Linked DNA regions of Homo sapiens: regions 1, 2, 3, 5 and 6 are each linked to region 4. The links are contacts of gene promoters, found by promoter capture Hi-C in blood cells and fetal thymus (Javierre and others, 2016). All regions are on one chromosome and are shown on one strand. Each heading gives the region's core, a stretch centred on a gene start or on the middle of the fragment in contact. The rest is flanking DNA. Distances are from core to core; before and after follow the strand shown. Region 1 overlaps FREM2 (FRAS1 related extracellular matrix 2). Region 2 overlaps FREM2 (FRAS1 related extracellular matrix 2). Region 3 has its middle 70 kb from the start of STOML3. Region 4 holds the start of CSNK1A1L (casein kinase 1 alpha 1 like). Region 5 overlaps LINC00437 (long intergenic non-protein coding RNA 437). Region 6 has its middle 38 kb from the start of LINC00366.

Region 1 (3,273 bases), core at 644-3,143, 1.8 Mb before region 4:
TGAATATATAGTAGTCACAGGTGGGACATATGACCTCTATGCAGTAAATTTACTTTTGAATGCGGTGTGCAAATAGATGATTTAGAAATAGAATCAAATATATACAACCGTTTTTAAGAAAAATCTCATTAAAAATTATTCTGCAGAGTGAAGGATTTATTTATACAGTGGATTTCCTGTCTTTCCAATGTTGTCCCCAGCCACATCCTATTCTCCATCCCCAATGTGTCTTTGCTCCAGCCTTAAATACAGTCTCTCTTGTAATACCAAGGTGTTAATTTGCACGTACCCCTCTATCTGGACTGCCCTTCCCCTCCCGTCCCCAGCAAAATCCTACTCACCCAACAACCAGCTGGTTTCCTTGCATGGCATGAGCTCTGTTCAGATCTGAGCCTTGCATACCATTTTGCCTTGTCTCCTGGTTTTTCCTCCTCTCCCTCTCAGAAGCTTCCCCATTTCTCTGCTTGCCATTCCCACAATATCCCGCATTCTTTCTTGCTTTTATGAGTTGTTGCTCATGCTTGTTTTCCTCTACTCTTTTCAGATTCAGCTTGAGCCTCCCCTCTTTGATAAGCCTTTCCTGACCCACTCAGGGTAAAACTAATCACTTCTACCTGTGCATTCCTGTGCCCTGTCTAGACTAAAATGTGTCTGCATCTTCAACTGGACCAAGAATTCCTCAAAAGCAGGGATCCTGTCTTCTTTATTTTATTGCCAGCACAAAGCATTGTGTCTGGCATATAATAGATACTTAAAGGTAGAATGAATAAATATTTTGTTTTCTAATACATAATTTTGTAAAAATAGATTTTAATTTTTCACTACTTACAAAATATATGGAATATGTGGGACATTGGAAGTATTAATAACCAGAAAGTAGACATTTGTAATATTGCACAGTATTCCAGTGATCTTCAGGGGAAAATGGCAATGACTGACCTTCTTCTCTGCTGATGGTTACAATAGGGCTCATGAGCTCCAGGCCTTCATCCCCATTGGTGTTCACAGCACGAGCTGCGCACTGTACCCGGGAGCCAGGCTGAAAGTATATGGAGTCCAGTGTGACCATCTTGGATGACGTAAAAAAGGTGTCGAAGTCCACTTCTCTCATAGGGCTGGTCACACCGTCAGGGCCCGCAGGTGCACTAATCAGCCACCGGTACCGCGTCAAAGTGTCATTGATGTTCTCACTTGCACAGATAGAGCCTGTTTTATCGTAGTCTGAATATTTGGGGTTGCAAGCCTACGGAAAACAAATGACTGTGTTAGGAACAGAGTGTAGAACAGGTGGAACGCATTCTTCTCCCGTTCTCTGCCATCGAGTTTTCACTGCTGCTTTCCCCAATTTCCACATGCTGTTTATACAGCTTCCGAATTTTGATCCCCAGGCATGATAACATTTATAAACATAATCTTGCATTTCAAACAGCTTATTGGATGTTTCTATTTCTAACTTAATATGTGTAAAATTGTTATTTATACCATAATCTCTTGAATCATCAGATTTGCCAGTTATCCTTATTCTCTCTTTTTTCCTCCCCCGCTTCCTGTCGCTCATCTTACCCCCCTTATCCAGTAAGTCATGAACTCGGCTGATTCTTCTTTAACAGTATTGCTTAAGTTGATGCCTTCCTTTCCATTTCCAGCAGCACTTCTCTGTCTAATTCAGCATCTTTTCTTCCAGTCCACTGACACACGACTGCCCTGTTAACCTGCCAGTTTAACCCCTCTGATCATTCTTCCATGTGAGAACTCTTCGCTACCCAACAAATGAAGTCCAAATTTCTTAATATGACATTTAAAACTCCCTATACTTTGACGCCAAATTATCTCTGCCTTGTTGACTCAATAAACATGTATTGTATAAGTGATTTTAGAAGTGCTGTTGTAATATAAACATAAGTAAGTCATAATTTTAGCTCACAAGGAGCTTAAACTTAGAGTCAAGAAAAGGCAAATTTTGAAAGTAGTGATAATTTGCTATTTCTTATGCTATTTTTTTCTAGCTGTAGCTCACGTTGCAGTCCCTTCTTCCTAGAATGACCTTCCCTTATCAGACTTGCATCCTAAAGAGTCAAAATTCCACCTGACCATCCCAAACCTCCCCTCATATATGGAGCTGCAGCTCTGACTTCTAATTTGTATCATTTTCATGATAGTGGTTATATCTTGCCTTATATTAGAGTTACCAATTCCTATATTCTTTTCTTCATCTCTAAATATCTTGAATGCAGACTTCATATCTTATTTATTTTTCTATTGGTGACAGACTGAGATAACACACTATGTACACATCAGTTAATGAACCTTTGTTCGGTGAAGAAAGAAAAATGGGAGCTTTATTTGATTAGTGTTATATATGCAAAGCTCAAGGCTTAAACCATGTAGTATTTTTCTACTTTCATTTCTTCATAACAAAGCCAATGCTATATTGATTATAATTATTTGAAATAATTATCTTACAATTTTCCTCAATTTTGTGAATCTCCTACTCACTGTGATACAGATGACAGGATAGCCAGACATGGGTTCAGCACTCTCCTTAGCTTTGGAAGTGTCGTCATACATCAACAGGGATACAATTTGAGGGACAGAAGGAAAAGTGACATCTGCCATGCTGCTCATTTCTTCTATGTACACAATGGCTTTCGTCAACTAGAAGGAAAAGACAATTATCACTGATTAGTGAAATATTAAACTTTTGATGCTTCTACCACACAGAACAATACTCACGATCCCTGGCAACCCCATGGCCTCGTTATGATGCAAATTGTCATACTCAGAGCCCCTGGAGAGCAACAGGCCCTAAGTGGCCTGCAGCACATGACCTTGGCACCTTGTTCACATCTTATGGTTCCAGGGAGGGCAGCTGAGCCCAGGGCAGTCAATCCAAAGGTTGGCCAGCGGCCCATGAGGTGTTTGGGCTCTAATTTATTTTTTTTTCTCCAGTTGTGATGACAGTAGCTAAATGTGTCTTGGGGTTGTGAAGGGAAATTTTATGAAGGAGTCAATTCTTTGACAGTGGGAGTAAAGCTGGAGGACATTCTGAAGGAAGGAATATCACAGAGGTCATGGGATAGTGTGAGCCTGGATGAAGCAGATGCCAGTAATAAGAAACTCTTTGAAGCAGCCAAGGGCAGAAGGCACTGCCTGAAACCCAGGCAGGGGAGAATTTGAGTTCCAGACAGAAGAGGAATCTATGAACACCTGCTGCTGGGCAAGGTGACAAGAACACCTTGCTGTGAGTTTGCCCTGGCTCCCTAATAACCTTCC
Region 2 (3,333 bases), core at 654-3,153, 1.8 Mb before region 4:
TCTGGCTGAGCTTTGTCCTTTAAGCAGTAAGGAAAGTGGTGATTGCTGTAGATAATGCCACGGCTTTTGCCAGGACAGCATGTTTCTCTATTTGTTTTGTGCAAGTACAAATTACTATAAAATGTCACCATTTGGTTTACTAAAAATGATCATTTTGTTGGTTTTTCTATTTTTTTTAAGAGACGGGGACCTTCTCTGTCACCCAGGCTAGAGTGCAGTAGCATGATCATAGATTGAACTTCCTGACTTAAGCAATCTTCCCACCTCAGCCTCCCAAGTAGCTGGGACTCCAGGCATGTGCCACGATGCTCGGCTAATTTTTTAAAATTTTTTGTAGAGATGGGGTCTCACTATGTTGCCCAGGCTGGTCTTGAAATCCTGGCTTCAAGTGATCCTTCTACCTTGGCCTCCCAAAGTGCTGGGACTATAGTGTGGCCACTGTGCCCAGCCTTGTTTTTAAATATAAGACAAGGAGGCTGAACTTTGAAAAATCTATCTAGCTCATTTTTTGGGTCAAAGCACTTACCACAATTTTAAATCTATATAAGAGTGAAGGAGAGTCGGCTAAGCAGCCATATTCTGCATTCATTGGACTATACTTGGGAACATAGCCATCAGCTCCAGTGCATAGAAACACCTTCTCAATGCTGCAGTAAAAGGAGTCACCCAGATTCTGGACAGGATCCACCATGACACGACCATAAATTATATCACCTGAAATAGAGATGTGGAAATGTTATTTCTGTTATATGATAAGGTATATCAACGTGACACTGTAAACAGGTTATGACAATGAGGACACAGAGATTATTTCCTTGCCACCCTCATCTACTATCAAATGTTGAAGGCCTGTTTGCATGAGCTTCAAGATCTGGTACATTCTCAGGCCTCAGGTAAGACCACTTTGCAGACTGACCAGAAGTGACTAAAGATTTATTGAGTCTCAGATGCTCAGCCACTAGTGTGAATAATTTCAAAGATCTGGCCTATAATTTGGCATTAATAATATCCCATTGTGGTCCAAGTCCAGTTTACAAAAATAAGTTGATAAGATATATACTGATACAATATAGAATAACACTAAGAAAGAAAGTATCAATACAAAGCCTAATTAACGTTATTTGTTTCTGAAAGAGGGTTTAATGAAACCCCCTGGTGTTCAATTCTTTATTTCATAACTATTATTGAACCCCTACCATGAGTGCCAGGTATTTCTGCTAGGTATGTGTGCTGGGTGCTGAATATACACCATTGAGTAAGGCAGGCACAATCTTTGCCTGAGAGGCATTTACAGTCTCATGTAGCTGCAGCATTTAAGTTTACACAGATTGAAAAAAAACATTCGAGAAAATCATCTAGACTTGTTCCAAAAGTCACTTAGGTAAGACAGCTAGAGATTAGCTTCCTCAGAAAAAAAAGATACCCAGTTACATATACCCAATCGCAACGACTTCCCACACCAGCCAGAGTGGGTAAAGACCCAGTTACATTCTCAAAACCATAAAAAAAGCTATAATTTGCCCCCTCAAACACAATCCCCAAAAAGCAAAGCACAAAAGATATACATGACAAACAGAGCATCCCTCTCATTTGTAAAGTGATACCTTCTGCAAAAGCAACATCACTCTCTTGCCCGAATCCCATGGATCCATCAGACAACCAGAGACTCTTCTTAGAGAGCAGGTACATTTGGGTGTTCAAGCTAAACTCAGCAGCCACTGGATCACTGACCTAAAACCAAAGGTAAAAGTTCTTTTATGCATCAGTGGTTCTGATGGTGCACAAACATACTGTTCACAGATACATACATTCACCGTACACTGTAGAACACTAAACACTGCATCGCAATTTTCACACCCTACCAAGCTAACTCAGAGAGTTGTAACATTGCTTTTGTCCTTGAGAAGGCAAAACTGGTGGGATCAAGTCATTTTTTGAATGGGACTAAACAGCATTGCTTGAGCTCATTTCCACTGGTTTATTGGGGTATATAAAGGACTTGTAAATATCATTGTCAGTAGAAGGCCAACAGTAAAAATTCTTGAAAAAAAGATGCCATCACATTTTTTATAATACATAATGGCAATTAGGTACTTTGAGGTGGTTTGAGCTACAGGATTTCATTCTCTTTAGAGAAGAACAAGAAAAGAAATGCAGAAGTGCGGGGAAAATTCTCAAATCTCCAAGACAGCAAACTTCAGGAGGACACAAGATAAGATCAGATAAGAAAAAAATAACCATTGCATACATTTAAACTCTGAATTTTACATCCTGTACTAACAACAGATAAAGGGCAAATCTCTCCTCATTCTTTTATCCCTAGCTTCCTTAACTGTCTGATTTCTTTTCTTTTCAGCATGCAAGAATTAAAGTCATTCACGTGTGGATTTTTTTTTTTTTTACTAATAAATGAAAAACAAAGTGGGATTCTGCAAGTCATAAGATAGTAATTCTATAAGCCACACCTGTTGGAATCGGATGTCAAGGTCAAAGGTGACAGGTTCTCTGGGGTTGCAGGTGACTGGCAGGCGGTATTCCTGATGTGATGGGGCAGTGCATGGCACCAGCTTCACAGTATAGGTCCCTGAGTAGTCACGTACCTTTGAGGAGAAGATATTGATATATTACATTTAAAAATCTGAGGTGTAATCAGATGGCAGCAGCAGAAGAAAATTAATTAAGAGTCTTAGTCACTTACGGCAAAGTCAGAGACAAAGCTCCACTGCTGTACTGGCTGGTTATAGGTTGGTTCACTCCTTATGAGGCGGAGGGAAAATGTCAGGCCTGGATGATCAGCTGACATGATCACTGAGCTTGTAAAGGATGCTAGGAAAGTGCCAGTAATTATAATAATGATATAGTGGTTCAATTAAAAGAGTGCATAACAGTTTAGAGTTTTCAAAATAAATGATCATACATTATTTGCTTCTGTTTTTATAAGAAGGCTGCAAAGCAGTCATGGTTAGTATAATTATCCTCCTCTGGCAGATGAAGAAACTGGGCTGTGAGTGACTGTGTGACTTTCCAAAGATCACACAGCTAGGATGTGACTTTCTGATTCCTACTTCAGTACTGTTTCTGCTCTATAGTTTTGTCAAAAGATAATTGTACAGAAATGCTCAAATTGTTCAGAGCTACTTTCTGGGGAGTCACAGCAGCACAATAAAGGGTGATGTGAATGCATTTATTGTGCACTGAAGTTACGAGCTGAACTTAAAATAGTCTATTAGTATCCACACAGCTGGGCAAACCCAATTTATGAATGGAGTCTGATTTTAGTTAGATTGCCTGCAATCATGGCTACACAAAGATTCAGTTTATTAGAAAGGTAGG
Region 3 (3,165 bases), core at 354-2,853, 1.8 Mb before region 4:
GTTAGTTTTTAAGCTAAGTAATTTTGAAGCTTTATAATTTAGACAGTGATATTGTTCTAAAATTGCTTGTCAGCGTTTCTCTAAATAGTAATGTTGAGTTTAACTATTATTTGAAAGACTACAACTTCATCCAAAAGAGTCAAGTTTTTTTTTTCTTTCCAAGATGGCAGATGATTTTTAGCATGTCTCAGTTACTTGGAAATAGCAAAATGATGCATAGAGACCAACTCCCTGAGCTTTAATTCACTTAGGAAAAGGGGAATCCACTGGAATTGTGAAGGACACCCCAGATCTCAGGGAGAAGAATGCAGGCAAACCGCCCCCGCGATGGTATCCAGCTGATAAAAGTGAGCGAAGCTCCAGTACCTGAGAGAGGCAAAGAGCTTCTGTCTGTGACTCGTCTTTCCACTGGGGATCTGAGCAACCCAGGCCAAGGGAGAGCATTTTGTTTCTCCCAAACTCTGCAGCTAACTTGAGGGGAGGCTTGGAGATGCTGGGAGGGAAACACAAGGAAAACTGCAGATATTTTCCCAGATCCAGGACCAAGAGCAGGACACCATTTTTAATCTGGGTGAGTACAGGGTCAGACATTCTTTGGGAACCTGGCAGTATGGCTGTTCAGGCATTTTCGTCTGGGCCAGAGATTCTCATGCTTGCTCTGGAGAAGGGTAGGGGTTTCCACACTGGGGTAATTGTGGAAAGCACCTCAGTAGTAGGCACTGGAATTGTATTTTCCTCCATCACAGGTCTGGGATAGGAAGAGAGCCGCCTGGTGATATGCCTGGGTTTGGGATGAAGAGGGTTCTGCAGTTTCTCCTGTTCAATGAGACTTGCAGCCAGGGCCAGCTTGGTGACCTGGAACTGGTCTGCATGTGCCATTGCTGGGTGCCCCAACCTGTTCCTCTGAGATGTTGTACAGTGGGTCCCTCTTTGCTCCACCCCCCAGGCTGAACTCTAGGCATTTGGAGCACCCACTTTCCTGGAGCAATAGCCTAAGCCACCCCATCCTTTTTGTGCAGAGATCCTGGTGCGAGAGGAGTCCTCCCTGGTTCAAGCCCAGGCAAATCTCTCCAGGCATTCAGAGAATCCATTCACCTGGTTCAGCAGCCTGAATTGTCACACCTTTCCTGTACAGAGATTGTGGTACAGCAAGGCCCTCTCTACTTCATGCCCAGGCATATCTCCAGGCAGTCAGAGCACCTGCTTGCCAGGACCAGTAAGCTGAGCCATCCCACCCTTCCTTTGCAGAGATTGTTGTGGAGCATGTGTTTTGTGTGCTAACACAAAAACACACAAGTTACATAGCTCACAGACCGCATAAAATAACCATGCAATAGAAATGACAAAGCAACCAGCTATCAGCTTCGCCATAGGATCAAAACCTCAGAAACCAATATTAACCTTTAATGTCAACAGTATAAATGCCCTCACTTAAAAGGTACAGAGTAGCAAACTGGATGAAAAAAAATCAAGACCCGTCTGTTTGTTGCCTTCAAGAGACCCATCTCACATATAATGACACCTATAGGCTTGAAGTAAAGGGTTGGTGAAAGAGCTATTATGCAAACAGAACACCAAAAAGGCAGGGGTTGTGATTCTTTGGTAAAGCAGACTTTAAACCAACAACAGTAAGAAAGGACAAAGAAGGGCATTACATAATGATAAAGGGTTTAATTCAACAAGAAGACTTAACTATTCGAAATATATATGCACCCAACACTGGAGCACCCACATTCATAAAATGAGAACTTCTAGACCTACAAAAAGACTTGTACAACCACACAATAAATAGTGGAGAACTTCAACACCCCACTAACAGAGAGTATTAGATCATCGAGGCAGGAAACCAACAAAGAAATTCTGGACCAAAATTGGATACCTGATAAACTGAACATAATAGACATCTACAGAATACTCAATTCATCAACTACAGAATATATATTTTTTGTTTCTGCACACAAAACATTCTCTAAGATCAAACACATGTTTGCTCGTAAAGCAAGTCTCAAGAAATTAGAAAAAATCCATATCATACCAACCACACTCTCAGACCACAATGGAATAAAAATAGAAATTAGTACCAGGATGAGCTCTCAAAACTACACAATTATATGAAAATGAAAAAACTTGCTCCCGAATGACTTTTGGGTAAACAATAAAATTAAGTAGAAATAAAAAACATTATATGAAGTAAATTATAACAAAGATACAACATACCAAAATCACTGGGATGCAGGAAAAGGAGTATTAAGAGGAAAGTCTGCAGCACTAAACACCTACATCAAAAAGTTAGAAAGATCTCAAATTAACAATATAACATCACACTTAGAGGAACTAGGAAAATAAGAACAAACTAACCCCAAAGCTAGCAGAAGAAAAGAAAGAAATAAAATTAGAGCAGAACTGAATGCAAATGGAGACCCAAAAATCCATACAAATAATTAATGAAACCAAAAGTTGGGTCTTTGAAAGGATACAAAATCAATAGACAACCAGCTAGATGAGCAAAGATAAAAGAAGATCCAAATCAGCACAATCAGAAATGACAAAGATGACATTACAACCAATCCCACAGGAATACAAAAGATCCTCAGAAACTATTATGAAGACCTCTGTGCACACGAACTAAAATATCTAGAGGGAATGGGTAAATTCCTGGAAACCTACAACCTCCCAAGATTGAATCAGGAAGAAATTGAAACCCTGAACAGACCAATATTGAGTTCCAAAATTGAATCAGCAATAGAAAACCTTAAAAAGCCCCCATGAAAACAGCCTCAAACCTGATGGATTCACAGCTGAATTCTACCAGTTGTACAAAGAAGAGCCGGTGCCAATTCTGCTGAACCTAATCCAAAAAAATCAAGGAGGTGGGACTCCTCCCTAACTCATTCTATAAAGACAGTGTCAACATGATACCAAAACCTGGCAAAGACATAGCGAGAAAAGAAAACTACAGGTCAATATCTCTGGTGAACATAGATGCAAAAGTCCTCAACCAAATACTACTGAATCCAGCAGCACATCAAAAAGTTATTTCACTGTGATTAAGTAGACTTTATTCCTGAGATGCAAGGTTGGCTCAACAAATGCAAATCAATAAATGTGATTCACCATATAAACAGAATTAAAACCATAAACCACATGATTATATCCATAGATGTG
Region 4 (3,634 bases), core at 943-3,442:
AAAAGAGTATTTATATTTGGTTGAGGAGATTGGAAAAGGTTTCATGGAGCAAACAGCATTTAAGGAAGAGCCCTGAGATTATTAGGATTAGACCTGGGCGATGGGAAAGATAAAGCAGGCTGGAAGCATTTCAGGCTGAGGAAACAACACCATAAGCCAAGACCCAAAGATGAAAAAATGCAGGGAGTATGTGTTCGGGGAAAAATCCGCAGTCCCACCGGCTTGTGGTAAGAGAATTCATGGGAGACTGGATTGGAAGCTATTCAGGGTCATATCATCACTTCAGTTACTGATCCTCCCCATTCTGGAGATGCTCACAACTTCCCTGTAAGTGAAGGTTCACCCAACCACCATTATAAGTTACACTTGACCTTCTTTATAGACAGTGCCTTTATTTAACTGGTACAAAAAAGTATGGGACTTAGTAAACAATAAATAAACTATAATTAAACTATTCTAGTTCCAGAATTGAAAGGGGATTTTTTGATTCAAGCTTTTGTCCATGTATGGGTTATCTGTAACTTTTTTGAATAGTGACTTCTCTCACATAGAGATTATTTGAATTTCAAGGTTCGTGTTGAAGCCATTGACTGGAAGACTGAACGGGAAGGAAGCATAATGGGCAGTGGGTTAACAACATAAATTTTATTCTTGGTTATTAGAAAGGAAATTGTTCTCCAGGCAAATTTCAACAAAGTTGGATGAGTAAATGAAAGAAATGCCATTCTAGTTGGTACGGTATAAAAAGTAACTACCTTGGGTCAGAATTCAGTTTCAAATTGGCCTCTGACACTTGTCTGTAGTGTGGTCTTGGGCAATTCATCTAACCTCTCTATGCCTTGATTTCCACTTGTATAAAATGAGAAGTACAATCATAATAATAAAATATGCCAGCAGTATACTGTATTACTATCCACCTGAGGTAGGAGTATGTATTTTCACCCCACTGTCTTTGGACCTGGCCATGTGATGTGTTTTGCCCAGTGGAATGTAACATTTGCCACTCCTTTTATTATGAGAACAGCATGCTCCTAAGGAGGCTGCTCTTTCAGCCTGCATTCTAGAACAAAGAGGACACAGGAAGCAGAGATGCAGCTGATCTACAGCTTACATAAAACCTGAATGATAAATAAACTTTGTCATTGTAAGCCACTGAGATTTGCGAGTTGTTCCTGCTGCAAAGCCAAGTAATATACTGCGCTACCCACCTCACATATTTGTCTGAAGTGGACTTTAAAAATGTTTTAAAGCACTTTATAATGTTCTATGCCCGTCTATGTCTCAAACCAGCTCCTTCTCTCGCCATAGATTGATGCAGGTCAGAAAAGTTAACAGCACTAACTTATGTGAGACAGTAAAGTGAGAATACCTGCTTTCAAAGCTGCACCTCTCTCTCCTGCCTTTCTGCCATTGGCCCCCAAATTCGTTGCTACTGCCCCGTTAGGATTATACTCAGTTCCTATCCCATCTCCTCATAAAACAAAATAATCGCACGGGTTTTGTTATTTGTGATGTGAACTTTCATAAAAATATTGAAATGGTACCGCTTTTTCTGCTAGTGCTGGCCCCAGTTCTTCTGAGAAAATGCTCAGAACTGCCGGCTTCTGTTTCTTCTCCATATTTTGGTTAAATTTTACTTGAATCCTTCATTTAGTCAGTTTTGCCAGAACGTCTCTGTGGAATCCTATTTAAATTCAAAGCACTCTATGAAAAAATTTCAAAAGGATCGCTTTAAAAAAAAAAAAAAAGACATTTCAATTTAACTAGCAGTAAGTAACTCTTGTTGACTAAACTCATTAAAGAAGCAACCACTGAGATCACACAGAAAAACCTCAAGAGGTGGCACCCCGACTCGCATTAACCCAGGGAGACATGATGGCTAAGGAAGTAGATGGGACAATGACTGGGCCCGAAAACAAGAAAATCTTTGTTATAAAAGCCTCCCATTTCTGCACGATTAAGTTGAAAGAAGGTGAGCTTCGAGTTAAGCCTAGGCAGTTTTGAATTCCAGCTCGCCCACAATCTCTTGCAACCTTAGGCCGCTTACCTGAGACTCAGCCTTTCTTACCCAACAAATCAGGGAAAATAATAGCTACCTTACAAGACTAGCAAGTTTGTCTTAAATGGAGTGAGATGAGTGGAACACCTAACAGAGGTCTCAGACAATAACAGCTTCTCCAAAAATTCTCGATTTGTGGTTGGCTGAGGTGGAGGAACAAAATGGCGGCGCCGGCGGCGTGACCGGGCCCTCTGGCCCACAGCCGTTGGTAGCGGTGGCAGCAGTACTGCTGCCCCAACTCGCTGTGCCCCCTTTCTCAGCCCACGACATCGCCACGACAGCGAGGCAGCGACCGCCACCGAGAAAGAGGTGGTGGCCCAGCCTGGAACCTTGAGAAACCCTCGCAAACTGTGGCCTGGCGGAAATCCTGGTGTGCTGCAGGGATCAGGCTGACTCCACGCCCTGTAACACCGGGAAACGCCTCGGTGGCCATTTCCAGCAGCCCTCATCCTCAGCCTTGCGGGCCGGTGGGCCCCGGAGGCCTCCATCCTCCCCTAGAGGGGTCAGGGCTGAGCCCAGCCTCCATCTTTGCCTCTCAGGATGACAAACAACAGCGGCTCCAAAGCCGAACTCGTTGTGGGAGGGAAATACAAACTGGTGCGGAAGATCGGGTCTGGCTCCTTTGGAGACGTTTATCTGGGCATCACCACCACCAACGGCGAGGACGTAGCAGTGAAGCTGGAATCTCAGAAGGTCAAGCACCCCCAGTTGCTGTATGAGAGCAAACTCTACACGATTCTTCAAGGTGGGGTTGGCATCCCCCACATGCACTGGTATGGTCAGGAAAAAGACAACAATGTGCTAGTCATGGACCTTCTGGGACCCAGCCTCGAAGACCTCTTTAATTTCTGTTCAAGAAGGTTCACCATGAAAACTGTACTTATGTTAGCCGACCAGATGATCAGCAGAATTGAATACGTGCATACAAAGAATTTTCTACACCGAGACATTAAACCAGATAACTTCCTGATGGGTACTGGGCGTCACTGTAATAAGTTGTTCCTTATTGATTTTGGTTTGGCCAAAAAGTACAGAGACAACAGGACCAGGCAACACATACCGTACAGAGAAGATAAACACCTCATTGGCACTGTCCGATATGCCAGCATCAATGCACATCTTGGTATTGAGCAGAGCCGCCGAGATGACATGGAATCCTTAGGCTACGTTTTCATGTATTTTAATAGAACCAGCCTGCCGTGGCAAGGACTAAGGGCTATGACAAAAAAACAAAAATATGAAAAGATTAGTGAGAAGAAGATGTCCACCCCTGTTGAAGTTTTATGTAAGGGGTTTCCTGCAGAATTCGCCATGTACTTGAACTACTGTCGTGGGCTGCGCTTTGAGGAAGTCCCAGATTACATGTATCTGAGGCAGCTATTCCGCATTCTTTTCAGGACCCTGAACCACCAATATGACTACACATTTGATTGGACGATGTTAAAGCAGAAAGCAGCACAGCAGGCAGCCTCTTCCAGTGGGCAGGGTCAGCAGGCCCAAACCCAGACAGGCAAGCAAACTGAAAAAAACAAGAATAATGTGAAAGATAACTAAGCGTGAATGAGGAACAGAAGA
Region 5 (3,619 bases), core at 916-3,415, 1.5 Mb before region 4:
ATACATTAGCCTTAGCTTACTGTAAATTTTTAACCTTATAAGCTTTTGAATTTTTAAAAAATGTTTAAACTTTTCTGTAATAATGCTTAGCTTAAAACACAAACACATATAGTTGTATAAAAATTCTTTCTTTATATTCTTGTCCTATAAGCTTTCTTCTATTTTTAAGCTTTTATTATTTTTTACTTTTTAAACTTTTCTTACTAAACACTAAAACACAAATGCACACATAAGCCTAGGCCTACACAGGGTCAGGATCATCAATATCACTGTCTTCCGCCTCTACATCTTGTTCCACTGGAAGGTCTGCAGGGGCAATGACACCCGTGGAGCTCTCATCTCCTGTGATAACAATGCCTTCTTCTGGATGCCTCCTGAAAGAACTGCCTGAGGCAGTTTGATGCTTTTTTATAATTAGAAGGAATACATGCTAAAATAATGATTAAAAAGCATAATATAGTAAATACATAAACCATTAACGTAGTCACTTATCAGCATTATCAAGTATTATGTATTGTGCATAATTGTATGTGCTATACTTTTATACCATTGACAGTGCAATAGGTTTGTTTACACCAGCAACACCAAAAACACATGAGTAATGTATTATGCCACTGCATTAGGACAGCTACTACATCACTAAGGGATAGGATTTTTTGTCTTACAGGACCACTATCATACATGCGGTCCCATTTATTTATTTATTTATTCATTTATTTATTTTTGAGTCCGACTCTCACTCTGTCACCAGGCTGGAGTGCAGTGGTGCAATCTCGACTCACTGCAACCTCCGCATCCTGGGTTCAAGTGATTCTGCTGCCTCAGGCTCCCTAGTAGCTGGGACAACAGGTGTGCACCACCATGCCCAGCCAATTTTTGTATTTTTAGTAGATACGGGGTTTCACCATTTTGGCCAGGATGTTCTCAATCTCCTGACCTCGTGATCTGCCTGCCTCAGCTTCCCAAAATGTTGGGATTACAGGCGTGAGCCACCGTGCCCGGCCCATGGTTCTTCTTTGACCAAAACGTCATTATGCCACACGTGGCTGTGTATTAAAATGCATGCAGGAGAAAATTCAACTTTAATAATGTTGATGAAGTAAGTAGTTCACATACTTCAAAGAAAAAATAGACAAGTAAACAAACATAAATACAAAAATGAATAGGCAGGAGCCCCTTATCCCCTAGTTTATAGTCTGGTGAGGGAACAAAGACATGCCGAAACACAAAACAAAATTCAAGAAGAAATATAGCTGAGCTACATAGGTAGCATTAAAGACAGATGATTAAGTTCTTAATTTCCCCTGTGGGAACCAAGGAAAGCAAGCAGGAAGAGGTGAAATTTAAAGGAAAAGTTTGATTATATATAGGAGGTCATGAGTCAGATGGGCATGTGGTGGTGGGTAGTGAAGAGGGGACAATGTTCTAGGTAGAGGGGGGAAATGTCCAAAGTACATGTGGTCTTGAGAATATTAAGTAGTTAAGCAAGGCTATGAATAATGAAGGTTAATTGAGACTGAGAAATGGAAGATGAATACTATATGAATATTAAGATAAGATTGACAAATCATTTTCTAAGGTCTTAATTTCTAAATGGCTGGTCTTCTATGATGACTGGTAGAGGGGCTTCTCTGAGTAGAGAGTGTTAGGGGAAAGCCTCTGTTGTTAAAGCAAATAGGCTTTCTATACTGTAGATGTGTGGGCAGCTGCCCCCACCCACCTTACTTTAAGAGAAATTGACGTGGAGGTTGCCCTACTTAAAATCCTTGTGAACTTGCTTGTGTGCTTTTATTTTTATTTTTAAGTAATGAACTAGGACATTCCCTAAGTTAAGAATTAATGAGCCACTGTATTTCTTGTAAATATACTTTTTAGCTTTACCTCTTGATCTTGATGGTTGGTGAATATAAAGTATATGTTTTGTGTACATATGTGATATTGTTGGAATGCTGTTGTAATCACACCAATGCTAAATTAGCATTTGAGTGGCCATAGCGTGCAGTGCTATCCCTTAGGCCACAAGGTAATCCAAAAAGAGTTAACTTTTTAAAATTTTTTAGTCTGCATAATAATGTGCTAAGAATTTCATATGCAGTGTTGCATTCAAGTCTCACTGTTATCCTGTCATTTAAAATTGTTATTATATAGTTATTATGTATTATTCTCACTTTACAAATGGAGAAATTAAAGCATTGACAGGTTGAGTATTTGGCCACTGTCACACAGCTGGGATGAAACACAGCTGGAATTAAAACTCAAGTTTTTCTAACTCTAAAACCACAGTCTTAACTATTAAGTAGTGTGAAATTTTACTGTAACTTTTAGATGAAAATATAGCCACAAGAAGTGATTTTTTTTCCCCTTACAACATCATAACCAGTGGTCAGAGCTGGAACTCACTTCTAGGCTGCCTGACTCCAGATGCCATGTTCTTTACATGATGTGCCATATAAATGCATGGACAGCACAAGGAACAAATAAGCCCATAATTCAACAAGCAAAAACTATTCAAAATATGTTTCTTTTATCCTGAGTTCTATCAATGGATGGACCTAGTCATAAATCAGCTCTAAGATAATTATATTAGTCAGTGATACTCTTTATGAATGTGATAATATACTAAAATTATTCATAATCCTCCCATTTTCTATTTAGAAATTGTATTCTCAGAAAATCACCTCTATTTTAATCAATGTGTACATTCAAGTGATTCCAAGTAAAGTTGCAAAGATATTTTCAAAAAAATTGACAGCTATAATATTTGTATGGAGCCAGGCATGGTGGTGCACTCCTCTAGTCTCAGCTACTCAAGAGCTGAGGCAAGAGGAGTGTTTGACCCCGGGAGTTTGAGATCAGCCTTGGGCAACATAGCAAGCCCTCATCTCAAAAAAATAAAAAATAAAAAATAAAAAAATATGAAATTTCAAAGGACCTTAAAGAAAAGATGAATACAGTAAATAAGTATAAAATGTGAATATATGTTATATTAAAGAATCAAGACATAATAAAATATGATATGTAAAATGTTGTAATTTTATCCTGATTAAACAAATAAACTGGAGGATTTACTAAGAAATACACAAAAATTTTCGAACTTAACAGATGACAAAGCTGGATTTCAATTTTGTATCATTTTACTTTCTTTTTTTTTTTTTTTTTTTTTTTTTTACTTAAAAAACAAACACCTATGACAGAATGTCCATTGCTGGTAGTGTTAAGACTAGCTTGTTACAGGCCATTTCTTCACACTGGGAAAAACTAGAAAACCTCAGTAAAATATATTTTTTAAATTTTGTGCAGCTATCTGACAGCTACAAGGGAGCAAATAAGTGCTACCTTGAACAGGTGATAAGTTTACTGAGTTTTATTTCGCATAATGGCCAGACCAAAGGAGACGTATCTCCATTTTCATCGATAATTTTTATTTCCTTAAAAAGAGGATTTGATTTGTTCACAAGAGGCCCTCCTATTGCATGGGGTTTCAAACAGACTAGGTGGAAGTGGATGTCTTCTCTAGTACCAAATCCATCTGTAATTGCCTTAGGCAATGAAGGCATGAATCCTCAGTCAAATCATCCATGGCCAGAAATGCAAGTTTCATTTTGGATAATCTAAAGCC
Region 6 (3,331 bases), core at 434-2,933, 1.4 Mb before region 4:
CTTCATGCCTCAGTCTTTTCATCAGCAAAGTGGGAAAAAATAGTAATATTTGATAGGGTTGCTGTGTGGACGAAATGAGAAAACACATTCTAAGCCCTTAGAAAAAAGCTTAGCATATTATAAGCACTAAAAAACTCAGTTTTACTATCATCCTAAGTGACATTTACAATTTCTAGATAATTAAATGAGTCTAGAATCGTTTTACTTAAAGTACCAAAGAAAATCACAGGCAGATGTGGGTACAAGTGCCCCAGAGTCCACGGTCTTAAATTGACACCTTCTCTATCTTATTTCTGAGAACAAAATTTTAAATTCCTCAAAATATGCCACAAGAATTATGGCATTGGACATCTAAAAATTGAGCTGTATCCATATTTTGCTCATGTAGGACCAGAAAAACTTTATAAATATTTTGGCTCTAACAATTTTTTCAGAGTGCTGGGGCAGACCTATGTCTTAGCCATTTTTGTACACACGGGATTAGCCCATCTTACAGATAGTGGGCACTCAAAAAATGTTGGTTGAATGGGTAATTTCTTAGTTTTGGTCTGTCTGCTCTGCAAGACGATTCCTGATCTGAAGGCATTTCTCAATCCTCATCCCATTGTCCCGCAATTTATTGGGTCAAGCTCTACGTATGTAGAAAATGGCCATAATTTTTACATTTCTTATTCTCGTCTATATCAAAATCCTGAATTTCTCCATGAATATCATGTAATTTCTGCTTATTCTATAAAGTAAGTATAAAAAAGAATACTTTGTCAATGAAATAAATAGCAGAATTTAATGACATTAAAATGTTGCTTTGGAGACCACATTTATTATCTTATGTGTCCAATAGAGTGTGCTGGTGTACTATATAACAGTAGAGGTTTCGGGCAACGGTGGTGCATTGGATTTATTTCAACTATTTGGTTTGCTTAACACAGTTAAATTAAAGAATGAGACTACATCCCTTAATTAAAACAAAATAAAACAAAATGACAATTTAGTGTACCATGTGAATATTTACAAGAAGAGAAAATGAAAATGATAACTGAATTTTCCTTTTTATATGGGCTCATGATTCAATATCCTACTTCATGGATATAAAATTGTAACACTTCTGGTTTATGCATACTAAAACTGTATACTCTTGCTTAGTTATGTCTAACAATTTAAGCTTTTCCTATTTAAAAAAAGTGCCTTGTATTTTGCATAGGTTATGACTCATAAACTCATCGTATTTCTGTTGATTTTATTCAACAGTAATAAGACCCTTTCCAGGGTTATGATTATAAGAGTATATTAATGCATTTAATCCAGTATTTATTTTTCAAAATTAACCTGAAGTGGCATACAAAACTGTCATTAGCAAGCAAAAAAACAAGATGAACAAAAATCATACTAAAAATACTCCCAATTGATTAATATCTAGTCATATTTTATTTTTCATGGAATAGTTAAGCATTTAGACAAATTCATGCTCCAGTTGCAGTTTAGGAGCAAGTATCTTTGTGATTTCATTTTCCTTGTGTTATGTATGTGTGTATGTGTGTGTGTGTCCCGTGGGAAACTGGCCAAGAACATGGCTAAATAAGAATCCATGTTTATGCTACTTGGGAAACTGGGTAGTCTGGCAGTGTATTGGCATTTTTGATTCTGTACGATATGGCAAGAATTTTCAACTCAGATGCTGTAGTAGACATTTGTCATTTTTTTTTGACTGCTCAGTATTTGCATTCTCTGCCTATATTTGGAATAGTATTAAGAGATCTGAGTCTTAGAGGGAGCAGAATCAACCTTATAGAAACAGAAAATTAGAGATGCTCATTTTTCCATCCTTCTTTGCACTAGGCATGGAAACTCTAATAATCACATTCACCTGTTCCACAAGTGGGATTGGGAGCTCACTGGGGCCAGAGAAGCGTAAAGTCATGAGTCTATGTTACAGTGATAATTCTCAGAGCATTAGGGCCCACAATGCACACTGAAATATTTATGTTTCCTCATCAGATAAATTCTGTGTATGATTTAGGCTTTTGTTCTCAGCTATGTAACATAAAGCATATGTTACGAGGCCTCCTGCTGATTCTGTAAAATGCCGATTTTTTTTCCAACTCACATCAATCAAAGTCAAATTCTGTTGTTATTCAATAACACATAATGGTGAGATATTTGTGATTTTGAGGTTATATTTCTTAGCAAAAGGAATTTAAAGCTTACTATCAACATTACTGTAGAATATAAAATTTTAATGAATTGTGCAAATCAAAGGGGAACAGATCAAACACCAGGTTGGTCAGAAGAGACACAGCTTTGAGCAGCCAGTGGCAAAGCATTGTCATGTGGCAATTAAAGCAGGTGACTAATGCTGGATGGAATCAAAGGATGCAAATCTCTACAGTAGACTCTTAAATTGAACTTTGAGCGAGTTCCTGAGCAGAGTCTGAGGAAAGACCTTGAAATAAAAAAGCAAGAGTCAGCAAAGATAATGTGGGACAAGACTAAGATACGTACAAAATCTTTAGCAGAGCTAATTAGATAAGAAAAAGAGAAATGTAAATAAACATAAAGTATTTTCTTTTCACCTGTTCTTTGATGAGAAAATATAAAATTTTATATCAAAATCTTACAAAATCATATATAATTTTATTGAACTTATTTTAAGTGTAAAATGTAGTTTTCATTAATTTATATTGAATCTATTAATTGAATATCAATTCTATTAACTAATTCTATAACTGATCTCTAACACAGTGAGTCTAAAAGCAAATGAATGAACAAGTCAAAGGAAAGAAAGGAAAAGAAGGAAGGAATGAAGGAAGGAAGAAAGGAAGGAGAGAAGGAGGGAGGGATGGAGGGAAGAAGAAAGGAACAACAATAGCAACTATCATTCTCATGCTTTGTAGATTGTTCAGGAATGAGTGGAAGCCCCTGAGATTTTTCCTCTTTCTTTGGGCAGTGCATACAGCTTTTTGTACACAGTACTTGCCATGAGGTGCAGGAGTGTGGATTTTCTCTTGGAGAATCCTTCTTCCTCTACAATGCAAAGCATTCTGATTGACTCCTCCAAAAGCAGGTTCCAGGTGTTTCCTTAAACACCTCAGTATTATTTTTGAATTGTATAGTGCTTCCGTTTGAGATTTGTGTTCATTGAATCTGATTTGAAAATGAGTATCCTTCTAGCTTCCCAAGAATCTCATTTCCTTTTTTCAATAAATGAAACCTGATTTCAAGGGAGGTGCTTGGGTTCCATGTTGCTCATTGGTTGACTTACTGTAGACACTGGCTTGGTTTTATTTAAGTAACAGTGAAATTTTCCAGCCGTGGCTCCTACCACAGTTATTTG

What was found. Contacts are between HindIII fragments. The CHiCAGO score rates a contact against its expected background, and 5 or more counts as called.
Region 1: a contact is called between a fragment that was not itself captured here and the fragment with the promoter of CSNK1A1L in region 4, in 1 of 17 cell types (total B cells). The highest score is 5.8, in total B cells.
Region 2: a fragment that was not itself captured here is called in contact with the fragment with the promoter of CSNK1A1L in region 4 in 1 of 17 cell types (total B cells); the score reaches 9.2 in total B cells.
Region 3: a fragment that was not itself captured here is called in contact with the fragment with the promoter of CSNK1A1L in region 4 in 1 of 17 cell types (activated CD4 T cells); the score reaches 5.4 in activated CD4 T cells.
Region 5: a contact is called between a fragment that was not itself captured here and the fragment with the promoter of CSNK1A1L in region 4, in 1 of 17 cell types (non-activated CD4 T cells). The highest score is 5.4, in non-activated CD4 T cells.
Region 6: a fragment that was not itself captured here is called in contact with the fragment with the promoter of CSNK1A1L in region 4 in 6 of 17 cell types (M2 macrophages, megakaryocytes, total B cells and 3 more); the score reaches 9.7 in M2 macrophages.

What each region holds. Positions count from the first base shown.
Region 1 is chr13:38,857,257-38,860,529 of GRCh38, reverse strand. It overlaps FREM2 (FRAS1 related extracellular matrix 2), which reads right to left. Exons shown (of 24, transcript NM_207361.6): 13 at 2,497-2,655; 14 at 940-1,243. Among named protein-coding and RNA genes, the nearest start is that of FREM2-AS1, 31 kb to the right of the region's middle. The HindIII fragment of the contact is 2,887 bases long and covers 450-3,273 here.
Region 2 is chr13:38,875,515-38,878,847 of GRCh38, reverse strand. FREM2 (FRAS1 related extracellular matrix 2) reads right to left here. Exons shown (of 24, transcript NM_207361.6): 19 at 2,699-2,826; 20 at 2,466-2,600; 21 at 1,605-1,731; 22 at 527-714; 23 at 1-17. Among named protein-coding and RNA genes, the nearest start is that of FREM2-AS1, 50 kb to the right of the region's middle. The HindIII fragment of the contact is 5,751 bases long and covers 1-3,333 here.
Region 3 is chr13:38,919,277-38,922,441 of GRCh38, reverse strand. It overlaps the pseudogene ANKRD26P2. Among named protein-coding and RNA genes, the nearest start is that of STOML3, 70 kb to the left of the region's middle. RefSeq lists an enhancer at 287-1,486. The HindIII fragment of the contact is 3,143 bases long and covers 32-3,165 here.
Region 4 is chr13:37,104,222-37,107,855 of GRCh38, reverse strand. It overlaps CSNK1A1L (casein kinase 1 alpha 1 like), which reads left to right and starts at 2,192. Exons shown (of 1, transcript NM_145203.6): 1 at 2,192-3,634. The coding sequence starts at 2,600. The coding sequence ends at 3,613. The HindIII fragment of the contact is 4,821 bases long and covers 496-3,634 here.
Region 5 is chr13:38,586,683-38,590,301 of GRCh38, reverse strand. All of the region lies in intron 2 of LINC00437 (long intergenic non-protein coding RNA 437), which reads left to right. Among named protein-coding and RNA genes, the nearest start is that of LINC00366, 21 kb to the right of the region's middle. The HindIII fragment of the contact is 3,987 bases long and covers 172-3,619 here.
Region 6 is chr13:38,528,214-38,531,544 of GRCh38, reverse strand. No RefSeq gene overlaps it. Among named protein-coding and RNA genes, the nearest start is that of LINC00366, 38 kb to the left of the region's middle. The HindIII fragment of the contact is 1,038 bases long and covers 1,165-2,202 here.